Regions from separate parts of the Homo sapiens genome. Here region 1 is linked to region 2. Evidence: promoter capture Hi-C in human tissues and cell types (Jung and others, 2019). All regions are on one chromosome and are shown on one strand. Each heading gives the region's core, a stretch centred on a gene start or on the middle of the fragment in contact. The rest is flanking DNA. Distances are from core to core; before and after follow the strand shown. Region 1 has its middle 36 kb from the start of UBE2E1. Region 2 holds the start of UBE2E2 (ubiquitin conjugating enzyme E2 E2).

Region 1 (6,406 bases), core at 2,301-4,800, 570 kb before region 2:
TGGAACTCAACATGCCTTAAAATTTTGTATATAGAGTTATTTATATATAATTGTTTCTGGATGGGATTTATGAGTAATTTTTTTCTTTTAATGTGCTACAGTCTACATTTTCTATGATAAACATGCATTACTTAAGCAAAACAAAATGATGACTTTTTTTCTGGAGACAGACAAGATCTCGCTGTGTCACCCAAACTGGAATACAGTGGAACAATCATGGAACAATCATAGCTCACTGCAGCCCCAAACACCTAGCCTCCAGCAATCCCCTCACCTCAGCCTCCTGAGTAGCTGGGATTATAGGCACGAGCCACCATGCCTAGCTCAATAATTACTATTTTTAAAAAAACAACATCACAACTAACAGATCTAGAAATGTAACCAGGCCGTAGGAGTGCCAAAGGCTTATTTTTTTTAATGAAGTATTAAAATTTTTTATTTTATCTAAAAAAAAAAAAAAAATGTAACCAGGCCTGAGAAAGCAGGTTGAGAGCAAAGAAGAAGCATTTTTTTTTTTTTTTCAGTTTAAAAAGCAATGACGGCTGGGCTTGGTGGCTCACACTTGTAATCCCAGCACTTTGGGAGGCTGAGGTGGGTGGATCACAAGGTCAGGGGTTTGAGACCAGCCTGGCCAACACAGTGAAACCCTGTCTCTACTAAAACTATGAAAATTAGCTGTCCATGGGGGTGGGTGCCTGTAATCCCAGCTACTCAGGAGGCTGAGGCAGGAGAATCGCTTGAAACCGGAAGGTGGAGATTGCAGTGAGCTGAGATCGTACCACTGCACTCCAGCCTGGGCAACAAGAGCGAAACTCCATCTCAAAAAAAAAAAGCAATGACTTGGCTGGTCGCAGCTGCTCACACCTGTAATCTCAGCACTTTGGGAGGCCGAGGCAGGTGGATCACTTGAGGCCAGGAGTTCAAGAACAGACTGGCCAACCTGGTGAAACCCCGTCTCTACTAAAAATACAAAAAATTAGCCGGGTGTGGTGGCGTGTGCCTGTAGTACCAGCTACTCCGGAGGCTGAGGCAGGAGAATCGCTTGAACCCGGGAGGCAGGGGTTGCAGTGAACCAAGATTGCGCCACTGCACTCCAGCCTGGACGACAGAGCAAGACTCCATCTCAAAAAAAAAAAGCAATGGCTTAAAATACCCACTGACCACCCTCCTCTGGGCTGCCTGCTCTTGTGTCTTCATCAGGTATGTGGTGGTGAGGATGCAGTTCTCTTCTAGATAAGGCACTGAAACGATGATGGTGCAGTGCATTTATTAGAAACTGCTGCAAAATTGTTAGAAACTGAGGCTATAATCTTTTCAAATATCTGAGATTTTACACATATATATGTTATTCTTTAATTCTACATTGTATTTTTACCATTTTCCCAGCACTCAAAATTAATAAAGCAACACAGTATGATAAATACTTAGGAGTTGCACAAGAAATGTATTTTTGTCAGTATGCTTCCCCCCCTCCTTTTGACAATTCACACTGGGGACAATAAAGATTAATCACACAAGGGAAAGTGAATAAGTGAAAACAAGTCCATTGGCAGTCACATAACAGCAGCTTAACTGTGCCTCCAGGTTGGGTACTTATTTATCATTACTCTCTCAGTATCCCTTTTAATTCAAGTTTTATTCCAACAATTCAAGAATCAGTCTATTAAAAATATTAAACTATAAAAAAAGCAATTATTATGCCAAAGGCACAAAATATTGAAATAGGTTTTACAACAAAAGTCTGTGCATGAGCCTATGTGTTATTATTTCAGCTCTTTGCTCAATCCAGTGGAATATTCTACACTCATTAGCTCTAGTGTTTATGAGAGTTTAACAACTGCTTGGTTTTCACGGCCAACATGATTATGCTCTGTCTTTGGTTCTCATACAGCTCTCTTTTGCATTCAGCTTACAGAATTTATTTATTTATTTGAGAAGGAGTCTCACTCTGTCACCCAGGCTGGAGTGCAGTGGCGCAATCTTGGCTCACTGCAACCTCTGCCTCCCAGGTTTGAGCAACTCCCCTGTCTCAGCCTCCCGAGTAGCTGGGATTACAGCCACCCACCACCACAGCCGGCTAATTTTTGTATTTTTGGCAGAGACGGGGTTTTGTCATGTTGACCAGGCTGATCTTGAGCTCCTGACCTCAGGTGATCCTCCCGCCTCGGCCTTCCAAAGTGCCAGGATTAGAGGTGTGAGTCCCCTCGCCTGGCCAGAATTGACTTTAAAACATAGCTAATATAAAGAACAGACTTGATACTCCAGAGTTTGGGGGCTTTAGAACCTGGCTCCCTGACAGAGCAATGAGTTCTTTGAAGGCAAGGACTATTCTATGCACTATAGCTTTATGTCCACCCTGGACTAGGTAGAGATTGAATGAATGGCTGAGTGATAAAAATAGCAGCTGGCACCAAAAAAAATGATTTTATGAATTAGTTTTGTTAGACCTTAGAAATAGCATACACTATTTTTTTTCTAATTTTTATTTATTTATTTTTTTTGAGACGGAGTCTCACTCTGTCGCCCAGGCTGGAGTGCGGTGGCGCAATCTCGGCTCACTGCAAGCTCCGCCTCCCAAGCTTACGCCATTCTCCTGCCTCAGCCTCCCGAGTAGCTGGGACTACAGGCGCCCGCCACCACGATCGGCTAATTTTTTTTGGTATTTTTAGTAGAGACGGGGTTTCTCCTTTTTAGCCAGCATACACTATTGTTAAGTACAAAGAGGAAAAAAAGTTTTGCAGTGGAGAAACCTGGCAGACACCACCTAATCCAAGTGATTAAAGTGGACATAATCATTAATGGGACAGATTGATGTGACGCATGAAGAAGGACAGTGTCAATTCCGGGGTATTCCTACAAAAGATGCATAACCTGACTCTACTCATGAGGAAACAGTAGACAGACCCAAAAGAAGAGACAGTTTGCAAAGCAACAGGCCTGTACCCTTCAAAAATGGCAATGTCAGGAAAGAACAAAAAATAAATCAATAAAAAACATTTAAACACTGAGAGGTGCTTCCAGATTAAAGAAGAGGCTTGGCACCTAAATGTATTTTATGATCTTGGATTCTAAATTGGCCAGAAAATTGCTTTAAATAACATCATTGAGAAACTGGCAAAATTTGAATGTGGACTGTAGCTTAAATCATAGTATTGCATGAATGTTCAACTTTCTGAATTTGATCATTTTCCCAGAACCATATGAGATAATGTATTTGTTTTTAGGGTATACATGCTGAAATATTTGGTTGGTATAAATGGTTCAACAAACATAGACTACCACAAGTCTAAGTGCAGTTTTACTTTTTGAGACAGAGTCTCGCTCTGTCACCCAAGCTAGAGTGCAGTGATATTGGCTCACTGCAACCTCCACCTCCCGGGTTCAAGCGATTCTCCTGTCTCAGCCTCCCCAGTAGCTGGGATTACAGGTGCCTGCCACCACGCCCTGCTAATTTTTGTATTTTTAGTAGAGACAGTTTTCACTATGTTGACCAGGCTGGTCTTGAACTCCTGACCTTGTGATTCGCCCGCTTCAGCCTCCCAAAATGCGGGGATTACAGGCATGAGCCACTGTACCCGGCCCTACGTGCAGTTTTAAGAAATTGAGGTGAAATTCACATAAGATAAAATTAATTATTTTATTTTATTTTTTAGAGACAAAGTCTTGCTCTGCCACCCAGGCTAGAGTACAGTGGCATGATCATGGTTTACTGGGACCCTTGTATGTAAAAAGGGGATAATATCTATGTCATACAATAGTTTTGATGGTTGAAAGAGAATATGAATGTGAACTTCAAACTCCTGGGCTCAAGTGATCCTTCTATCTCAGTCTCCTAAGTAACTGGGACTACAGGTGCGTGCCACCACACCTGGCTAATTTTTAAATTTTTATTTTATATAGAGAGGGAGTATTGCTGTGTTGCCTAGGCTGAACTCAAACTCCTGGCCCCAAGCAATCCTCCCACCTTAGCCTCCCAAAGTATTGGGTTATAGGCTTGAGCCACCATGCCTGGTCAGATTCACCATTTTAAAGTGTACAATTCAGTGACCTTTAATACATTCATGGCTGGGCGTGGTGGCTCACGCCTGTAATCCCAGCACTTTGGGAGGCTGAGACGGGCAGATCCCGAGGTCAGGAGATCAAGAGCATCCTGGCTAACAGGGTGAAACCCTGTCTCTACTAAAAATACAAAAACCTAGGCGTGGTGGCAGGCACCTATAGTCCCAGCTACACAGGAGGCTGAGGCAGGAGAATGGCATGAACCCAGGAGGCAGAGCTTGCAATGAGCCAAGATCGCGCCACTGCACGATCTGTGTGACAGAGTGAGAATGCGTCTCAAAAAAAACACAAAAAACAAAAAACATTCACAATGTGGTGCAACTACCACCTCTACGAACTCCAGAAGGAAACCTCAGACCTATTAAACAGTCATGTCCCATTTCCCCTTCCCATGAGTCCCTAGCAACCGCCAAGCTATCTTCTATCTCTATGGATGTACCTATTCTGGGTATTTCATATAAATGGAATCATGCAATATGGGGCCTTTTGTGTCTGGCTTTTTTTACTTAACATGTTTTTGAGTTCCATCCTCACTGTAGCATGCATCAATACTTCATTCCTTTTTATAGTTGAATAATATTTCATTGTACAAATGTACCTATTTTGTTTTTTCATTCATCCGTTGATGGGCACTTGGGTTGTTTCTGCTTTTTGGCTATTATGAACAGTGCTACTATGAACATTCACATACAAGAATTTGTTTGAGCACCTGTTTTTAATTCTTTTGGTATATAGCTAGGAGTGAAATTGCTGTATCATATGGTGAATGTATATTTAACTTTTAAAGAAACTACCAAATTGTTTTCTAAAGTGGCTGCATCATTTTATGGTTTGTACTGTTCTTACAACTCTCCTCAAAGTCTAAAATTATTTCAAAGTAAAAAAAAAAAAAATTAGTATGTGCATACTCAGGCAGAAGGACACCTAAGTGCACAAAAGTAGGGAAGTGATGAGTGAGCTTCATCCAACAGGCCAGACCTGCGTGTGAACTCAGATGGTTAGAATGACTGGCATAGGCAGCTTAATGGAAGTTTCCAGAGTGAAAATTTTTGTAAAGGATGACACAGTTTAAAAGTGCTATTAAAGCACTTCCATAATAAGAAACCCAGCCCTGGGCAGGTGGAGAGAACCCATGTGCCCAGCCTTTCTCTTCCCCTTTGGGGGCATCATTAGCAGCTCTATGGGTGCACAATCCATTTGTTGACTACATGCATGAGTGAGCATGGTCTCCCTTTTATAAATGGGCATCCATGGGAAACTGCAATTTTCCTTACAGAAGTCTGCCTGATTGCTAGTTTTGATGGTTAAAAGAGGATACGAGTGTGAAAGTTCTGCAAAGTCATAAAGCACTGATAGACAATGAATGAGGATTATAACTAAGGCCTCTACATTCGGTTCACACCATTGTTAGTTCCTCTTCCTCCTGAGAATGTGGTCCCCCAACCAGCCACTTGGTACTCCCTGGGAACTTGTGAGAAATGCAGACTCTCAGGCCAGCCTAGAAGTCTGAACCAGAATCTGCATTTCAACAAGATCCCCAGGTGATTGGCAGGCCTATTAAAATTTGGGTAATGCTGCTTTAATGCAGAGATACCTAAACTTTTCTAACTATAACAACCATCTGGGACTACTTATTAAATAATTCCAGTTCTCTTGCTTCCCTTAGTGGAGATTAATTCAATGACTCTATGGTGAGGCCCTGGAATGTGAATTCTCCAGATGAGTCTCCTGATCAGAAAAGTTTGTTAAGCAATACTTCAAATGCGTAGCTTTAAAGGAAAAGGGGATCCTGGTGTGGTGGCACATGCCTGTAATCCCAGTGACTTGGGACGCTGAGGCAGGAGGATCCCTTGAACTCAGGAGTTCGAGGCTGCAGTGAGCTATGATTGCACCACTGCACTCCAGTCTGGGCAACAGATGAAGAAAATCTCTTAAAAAATAAATAAAGTAAAATAAAGACAAATGGGGAGGCCGGGCAAGATGGCTCACGCCTGTAATCCCAGCACTTTGGGAGGCCAAGGCAGGCAGATCACCTGAGGTCAGGAGTTTGAGACCAGCCGGGCCACCATGGTGAAACCCCATCTCTACTAAAAAAAAAAAAGTACAAAAATTAGCTGGGCCTGGTGGCGCGTGCCTGTAATCCCAGCTACTCGAGAGGCTGAGACAGAAGAATCACTTGAACTGAGGAGGCAGAGGTTGCAGTGAGCCGAGATAGCGCCATTGTACTCCAGCCTGGGCAACAGAGCAAGACTCCATCTCGGAAAAAAAAAAAGAAAGAAAAAGAAAGGAAGACAAAGGACAAAGGGGGAAATCTACCTCCTGGAGAGACGAGAGACTATAAGATATC
Region 2 (6,387 bases), core at 2,969-5,468:
GGCCTGCATGACTGCATGATTCTAAATAAAAATTGAACCATATGACAGCATTCAGCTATATACTAAAGCAACCATATTTCACAAGAGATGAAGACACTGAAGATTTTTTTTTTTTTCCCCACATTCTGGCTAAAATATCCCTCAAGGCTTTCAAATTCCCTTTGCTCTGAGTTCAGGCCCCCCAAGCAGTTCTGATTACCAACTCAATTTCCTCAATACCTTGATATTTAGGTAGCTGTTATAATCTAGACAGCAGACACAAACAATTCCAGTAAGTGAAAAGGAGTATCTCTCCTCAACTGTCATTCTATCATAATCAATTTCTGAGTTTGATGACTATGAATACATCCCTTATGAGCTGACTAGCTTAAAGTGTTCTGACAAATCCAGAACTGAACCAACAAAACTCATGCCCAGACTCTAAAAGGCCTTGTGCTCCCCATGGTTTTGTCACCTAATAATCACTTTCAGCACTGTATAGCTATCTTCTCAGACACCTTTTTAAAAACAAAATACCTATACTTAATAAGTACCATTAACAGCAAAAAATATATCTTTAAAAATTATAGGTACACTGAACAAATTCCTTTTGAAATGGATCCTTTTGATTACTCTTAATCAAATTACAACTTGAAATAAAACTGTTTCTGATATGATCAAGAATAAGAACAGGTAAAGATACCTCAAATAAAGCAAAATTTTTTAATTACTATAACTTAGTCCAAATGGATAGCTATTTGACACTGATGAAAATTCATCATCACTAAAGATTTAACTTGTAGCTTGCTCTAAGCCAAAGCAATGTTGTAACACCGATCTTTAATGGACTGAAATTTTTGTAAGACAAACCAAAAAGCACTGCAAAAGAATGGAAGCATCAGGAAGCACAGAGCCACAAAGAGTCAACAGAAAATAGTGAATCCTTTCACTGACACACCACACACACCACCACCAGCACCCCTTCAACCCCAACAGCTCCCCATGCCAAACAGAAACAGATCTGCCCCAACAGCTCTGAAACATACTAACGGAAAAGCTGACTACTTTTCTACCTATTCTGTAAATGAAGAGCACCAGTCTCCACAGCTGTGACATCTTTTATGAGCACTAAAGTCACTTAATAGAACACTGAAATTTTATATCAGTATGTTTCACATCTAGCTCTAAAAGTCGTAACATATTTCTTGCTTTTTTTCATTTTTATTTCACTCTAAATTCTCATTCTTGGATTTAATATTTTTTTTCACCTTCTTTCAGTTAAAATATATCAGAAGTTTAAAATCTTGTAAGTATGTACATAATGGCATATCAGATAGGGCGGCATGCATGAGAGTGAAAAAGAGAACAATCCTCAGGGAAAGGTGCTCAGATATAGCAAAATGCTGCCAGCAATACCTTAAGAAATGTGAAATGAGTGAGAAATCATTTTATACATTTTAAAACAGGAGCAATCCATTCCATGACAAATATATGGGTACCTCAATGAAATAATATTCTCTATACTGAGGATGCAGCTTCAGCGTAATAAACTATGATTTAATAAACTATGCTGAGAGTTTCAGTTGTGTATAACATTAGTTATAAAGCCACACATTCTTCTCAATATTCTTATTTATGTGCATTTACATACTATCGAATGCCATAGTTATATAATTACTTAAAAAGATTACTCAATGATGTGATCTGAGCCATAATCTGAAACTCAAATTTCTACTGCCGAATATTAGAGGAAGATTAAAATAAAAATTAGTCTCACCAGAGAACTAATAAAAATACTATTAGAAATTCCCCAACAGAGGTGTAATTTCTGGTTTCACATTAAGGAAAAGAATTATTCCCACTTTTGAGTTAAGACATATTTCATCCAAATGTTAACCTACAAATGATAAGTCCATCTGAGGCCATTGATAACCACTATAGGAACTTTTAGAAATAAAGTTTTCACATCTCTTTTTCAAATATCAATAATAAAAGGAATTTCTCCTGGGTTTGTTTTTTGAATGCTTGATTACAGAAAAAGTATAGAAAAAAATTATTGTACCACTCAGGTGCAACGAATTTTTATGAAGAAAAAGTAGTCTATGAATCAATTTAATTAGTCGTAAGTGTAAACTTGATGTCTTGTCTCTCTGAAGTACAAATGAATAAAAATTCCTGAATTAAAATCCTTTAAACATTATCTTCTAAATTAGCATTTTAAAATTAATTCCTAAATAGCTAATCTGATCCGATTATCTCATCTACAGGGAAGATAAACTTAAATCCCAGGGTTATAAACAAACAGCTACTCTCCAATGATACTTTCAAAGATATTGAGAGAGATAAATACGCTTACTTCATAACTCAAAGTAAAATTTAATTTTTAACCATAAAATAAGTAGTCCTTCCTAAAACTATATTAAGAGGCTTACATATTGTTACTTCTTCAACACAAACTGTCTAAGCTTGTATTAGCTATGTACCCTATGTTGTAATTACAGTCCTGGAAATTAGCAACATACAGTGAATGAAACTCACATGTTCCATAAAAATGAAATGATTTGGCTTGAAATATTACTGACTACATAAAGGCAACTATAGTCATTCCATAAATCCAGCCTACTACCCAGGTAAGCCTTATAACAGTATCTACTAGTATAAAACTGCAAAACCAAGTGTTCATTTAAGCTTTTATAACAGGAAAGCGTTTAATTCTGTCATATATGTCTTGCTGTCTTCCTACTCATGTTTCTAAACTTTTCTAAAATGTAAAATAAATATATAGTATATGCACACAGCAATATCCAGCTTTAAATTTAACTGCAAAGACATTTATGCAGAAAATAACAGTGGAACACCTGATTTGGGGGTAAAAGGTGCTGCAGGGGAAAGAGAATGGGGTATGGCATTATATGAAAACACTCTATTTCAGCGTCAGCCCACATACAGAATTCCAAAGAGCCAAGGAGCATCCAAATTGCCGTAGTAAAGGCAAATATTTAGATTCACAAAGTCCAGACTGAATTATCACATATCTAGAAACATACTTTTTAAAGAAATCAGGGATTAAAAACTAAGAAGAGCGTAAAATCCTTTAGAACCGCGAGATACTTTGAGGGTAAACCCTAGCACTTCCTTTCGTACTTTTAAATAAAAATATTTTAGTAGACTCTCAAGAATACACAATACAAAACGATGAATCTTGAAAACATGCAAATGGGTCTAACAGCCACCGAGCACAGGATGATGTCTTTCTAAAGCAGCCTTAATTTCCTTAAGGGAAGATGGATTGGACATTTCTGGTTGGTCGTGGGGGAAAAAAGCCACAAGAAGCCACGCTTTATCTTCATTAGAAATGGTAAAGGGCAAAAAGATCAAAACATTATGAGAGAGATCGGAGAAAAGAGGGGGAGAAGTGGGGTGGGCGGGAAGGGGGAGAGGACAGAGGGAATCCAGTTTCAAACCAGGCCAGTGGGGGCTGCAGAGAAGAGACCAGAGAAAAATGGGCTTCGGTTCCAAACTGTGACAAGCGCCAGGCATCACAAAAGACCAATACAACACACACCCCTCACCAGGACACACACAAATATACCCCACAAGGTCTTCTCCGGGCGGGCCACCGGGGTGCGGCGGCGAAGGAGCCAAACCCGGCACTCGCCAGGAGACACACCATGTGCAGCAATTATGCAATTAGGGAAAATAGCAAAAGATCAAGCCGGGCACTTTCCACCGTGACATTTATCCTGTACTTTTGAAAAGACTTAGTTCCAGGATGCGGCTAGGAGAAGGAAAGCGCTGGGAGGGTTGAGAAGGATGGGGAACTGAGAACGGAAGGGGGTAGAAGGAGGACAGGGAGAGAAGAGGCAGAAGGGGGGGATGGGAAGAAGGGGGAGGGGTAGAAAGGGCGAGAAACGGGGGCAGGAGGCTCGCGGGAGGGGGCGTAGGGAACCGGGCACGGGGAGCGAGGAAGGAGGGAACTAGGGCACGAGCGGTGTAAGCAGAGACCTGCGACGCGGAGGGGAGGTCGGGGGAGTGAGGAGGACGTCAGCGAGAGGGAGGACGCCCGAGGAGGGGAGGCACCGGCGCGGCCCGAGCGAATACCTGAGGGGGGGGTGTCCGTGCAGGTCGCAGGCTCGAGCCGAAGCCCTGGGAGAGAGCTGCCCAGGCGCGAGGGGGAGGGAGACTGGGGAGGCCCCAGGGACGGGATGTCCCCTGCGGACCGTCTAGTCACCGAAAGCCGGACCCACGCACCACGCACCCGACCACGCCTGTCCCCGCCGCGCTCGCGCCCGCCCGGACTCACCCTCAGCGCCGCCGCTGCCGCCGCCCCCGGCCGTTCCAGCTCCGGCTCCTGAGGCTGCTGCCCGCGGCTGTCGCTGTGGCTGCCCCTGAGTCCTGGAAAGTGAAGCCACCACCTCCGGGAGCCGCCGCCGCCCGGCCGTCCGCGCGCGCACCCGCGAGTGCGCGTGCCTGCGCGCCCGCCCGGGAGAGACCGCGAGAGCGCGAGCCCCACGTCGGCCATGCGGCGCCGCGCGCCTCCCTCCTCCCCCCGCCCCTCCTCCTCCGGCGCGCGGCCGCGAGGGGGCGGGGGCGGGAGCGCGCCCGGGCGGGCTGCCCCGCCGGTCGGGAGAGGGGGTGGGGAGGCGGCGAGGAAAAGTAAAGTGACAGCTGGGTCCCGCGCGCAGACTGGGCTCTGACGGGGGTGAGCGAGGGGCGTCCCACGGGGAAGGAACGACAAGGACGGGGAGAAGTGGGGGAAACCGAGGCTGACGGGGTGGCTTGAGGGGAGGGGACGCGAGGACCTTGCCGGGCACGCGCATTAAAGGGAAACGCCGGCTGGGGGTTAGGGGTTACCCCAAGACGGTGCAGGCAGTGGGACGAGGAGGCCTTTTACCCCCATCCACCGCAGCCCTTGACTTCACGCTCGCCTCGAAGCTTTCGCAAAGTAGATACGGGGACTGACCCTGTTGACACACTAACCCAAACTCGCAGACGCGTGGGGCTCGCATGTACCCAAGACAGGAAAACTTCACGTTGGCCTGGAAACTTCTTCCAGGCTAAGCCTGAGTCTTCACCAGACACTGCAGCACGAAGGCCCTTCTGCCTTTTGGCTCGCCCTGGCCCAGAATGCGCACCAGCCGGTAGAGAGGAGCTTCGGGCCGTTTAGCCCTGGGGTATTGAAGAGAGGGGTGGGGGTACAGGGTGCACCACTGTCAGAGTGAGTGGGAAGCTGCCTTCATGCCCAGTTGAAGGATATGGGAACAGTAGCAGTGCTGTAGGTGGCATGAGGGAACATTAGGTTCCGTTGTACTCCTCATCCCAAATAACCGTTTAAAAAAAAAAAAAAAACGTACCTGCTTTGCGAACTTAGCTTCCACGAAATTTCTCCCACTCCAACCTCCAGCCTCACTTACCAACGGAATGCTGGGTCGTTGGCAACGGGGTGTCCAGGGATGCAGCAAAATTAACTTCTATCTTTGTGGAGGAAAGGATTGGAAGATCTTTCACTGCTTAATTGCTGAAATTATGGTTGCTACAGTACTTCATTTGACTGTAGATGTTTTAACTGCTATTTACTAAGTTCAAAATGGGTTTAATACAAATCAGTTACCCTTTTCATTTATTCAAGGAATATTTATTGATACCAGGCACTGTCTAGGTGGTAGATATATGACATTGAATAAAAGAAAAAAATCCTTGTCCTCAGAACTTCCCTATGTCTGAACCTTCTCTGTTGTACACTCAGCATCACATTCGTCAGCAAATTCTGTTGACTCTGTTTTCACAAATATATGGTGAAAATGTCCACTCCGTCTCACTCCCCTCCCCACTGCTAATGTCCTGGTCTAAGGCATCATCTCTCAATAATTATCTCCTACCTGATCTTTCTACCTCCCACTCTCCGCCTCCTCCCTCCCCAACACCTACACACAGCCGACTGTCCTTTAAAACAAAGATTAGATTATGTCTCTCTTCTTCTCAAAAATTCCAGTGGCTTCCCATCATAGAGCAACAGCCAAAGTGCAAAATATGGATACATGGCCTGCATGATGTGCCCACCATTCCCAGCCAGGATTCCCCTGACCTCAAGCTGTACGATTTCACTCCATCCTCGTCTCCTTCCAGCCACACCGGCCTTGCAGTTATGGACACACCAAGCATTCCTCAGCCTCAAGACCTGTGTACTTACTATTTCCTATCTCTAGAACATTCTTTCCTCCCACTCCTCCCCCAGAACTTCCTATCCACATCCTCTGCTTTTTCTCCATGATCACCACCTGACATAATACATTTTTTTACTTATTTATTAGTTTCCCCCTTCTGCTTTCTTTTTCCTCCCTCTCCCAGCCCTCCCACGTAAAAGCACCTTGAGAAAAAGGATTTCGTCGTCTGGGGTTCAGTGCTGTA

The links. The method cuts DNA at HindIII sites, captures the fragments that hold promoters and counts their contacts. A contact is called where the count stands out against the background at its distance.
Region 1: a contact is called between a fragment that was not itself captured here and the fragment with the promoter of UBE2E2 in region 2, in 2 of the 25 tissues and cell types used here (lymphoblastoid cells and spleen).

Annotation. Positions count from the first base shown.
Region 1 is chr3:23,766,810-23,773,215 of GRCh38, reverse strand. No RefSeq gene overlaps it. Among named protein-coding and RNA genes, the nearest start is that of UBE2E1, 36 kb to the left of the region's middle. The HindIII fragment of the contact is 6,533 bases long and covers 284-6,406 here.
Region 2 is chr3:23,201,158-23,207,544 of GRCh38, reverse strand. It overlaps UBE2E2 (ubiquitin conjugating enzyme E2 E2), which reads right to left and starts at 4,218. Exons shown (of 6, transcript NM_152653.4): 1 at 4,081-4,218. It overlaps UBE2E2-DT (UBE2E2 divergent transcript), which reads left to right and starts at 4,552. Exons shown (of 2, transcript NR_136176.1): 1 at 4,552-4,681. RefSeq lists a silencer at 4,058-4,747 and enhancers at 5,098-5,157, 4,570-5,545. The HindIII fragment of the contact is 11,420 bases long and covers 1-6,387 here.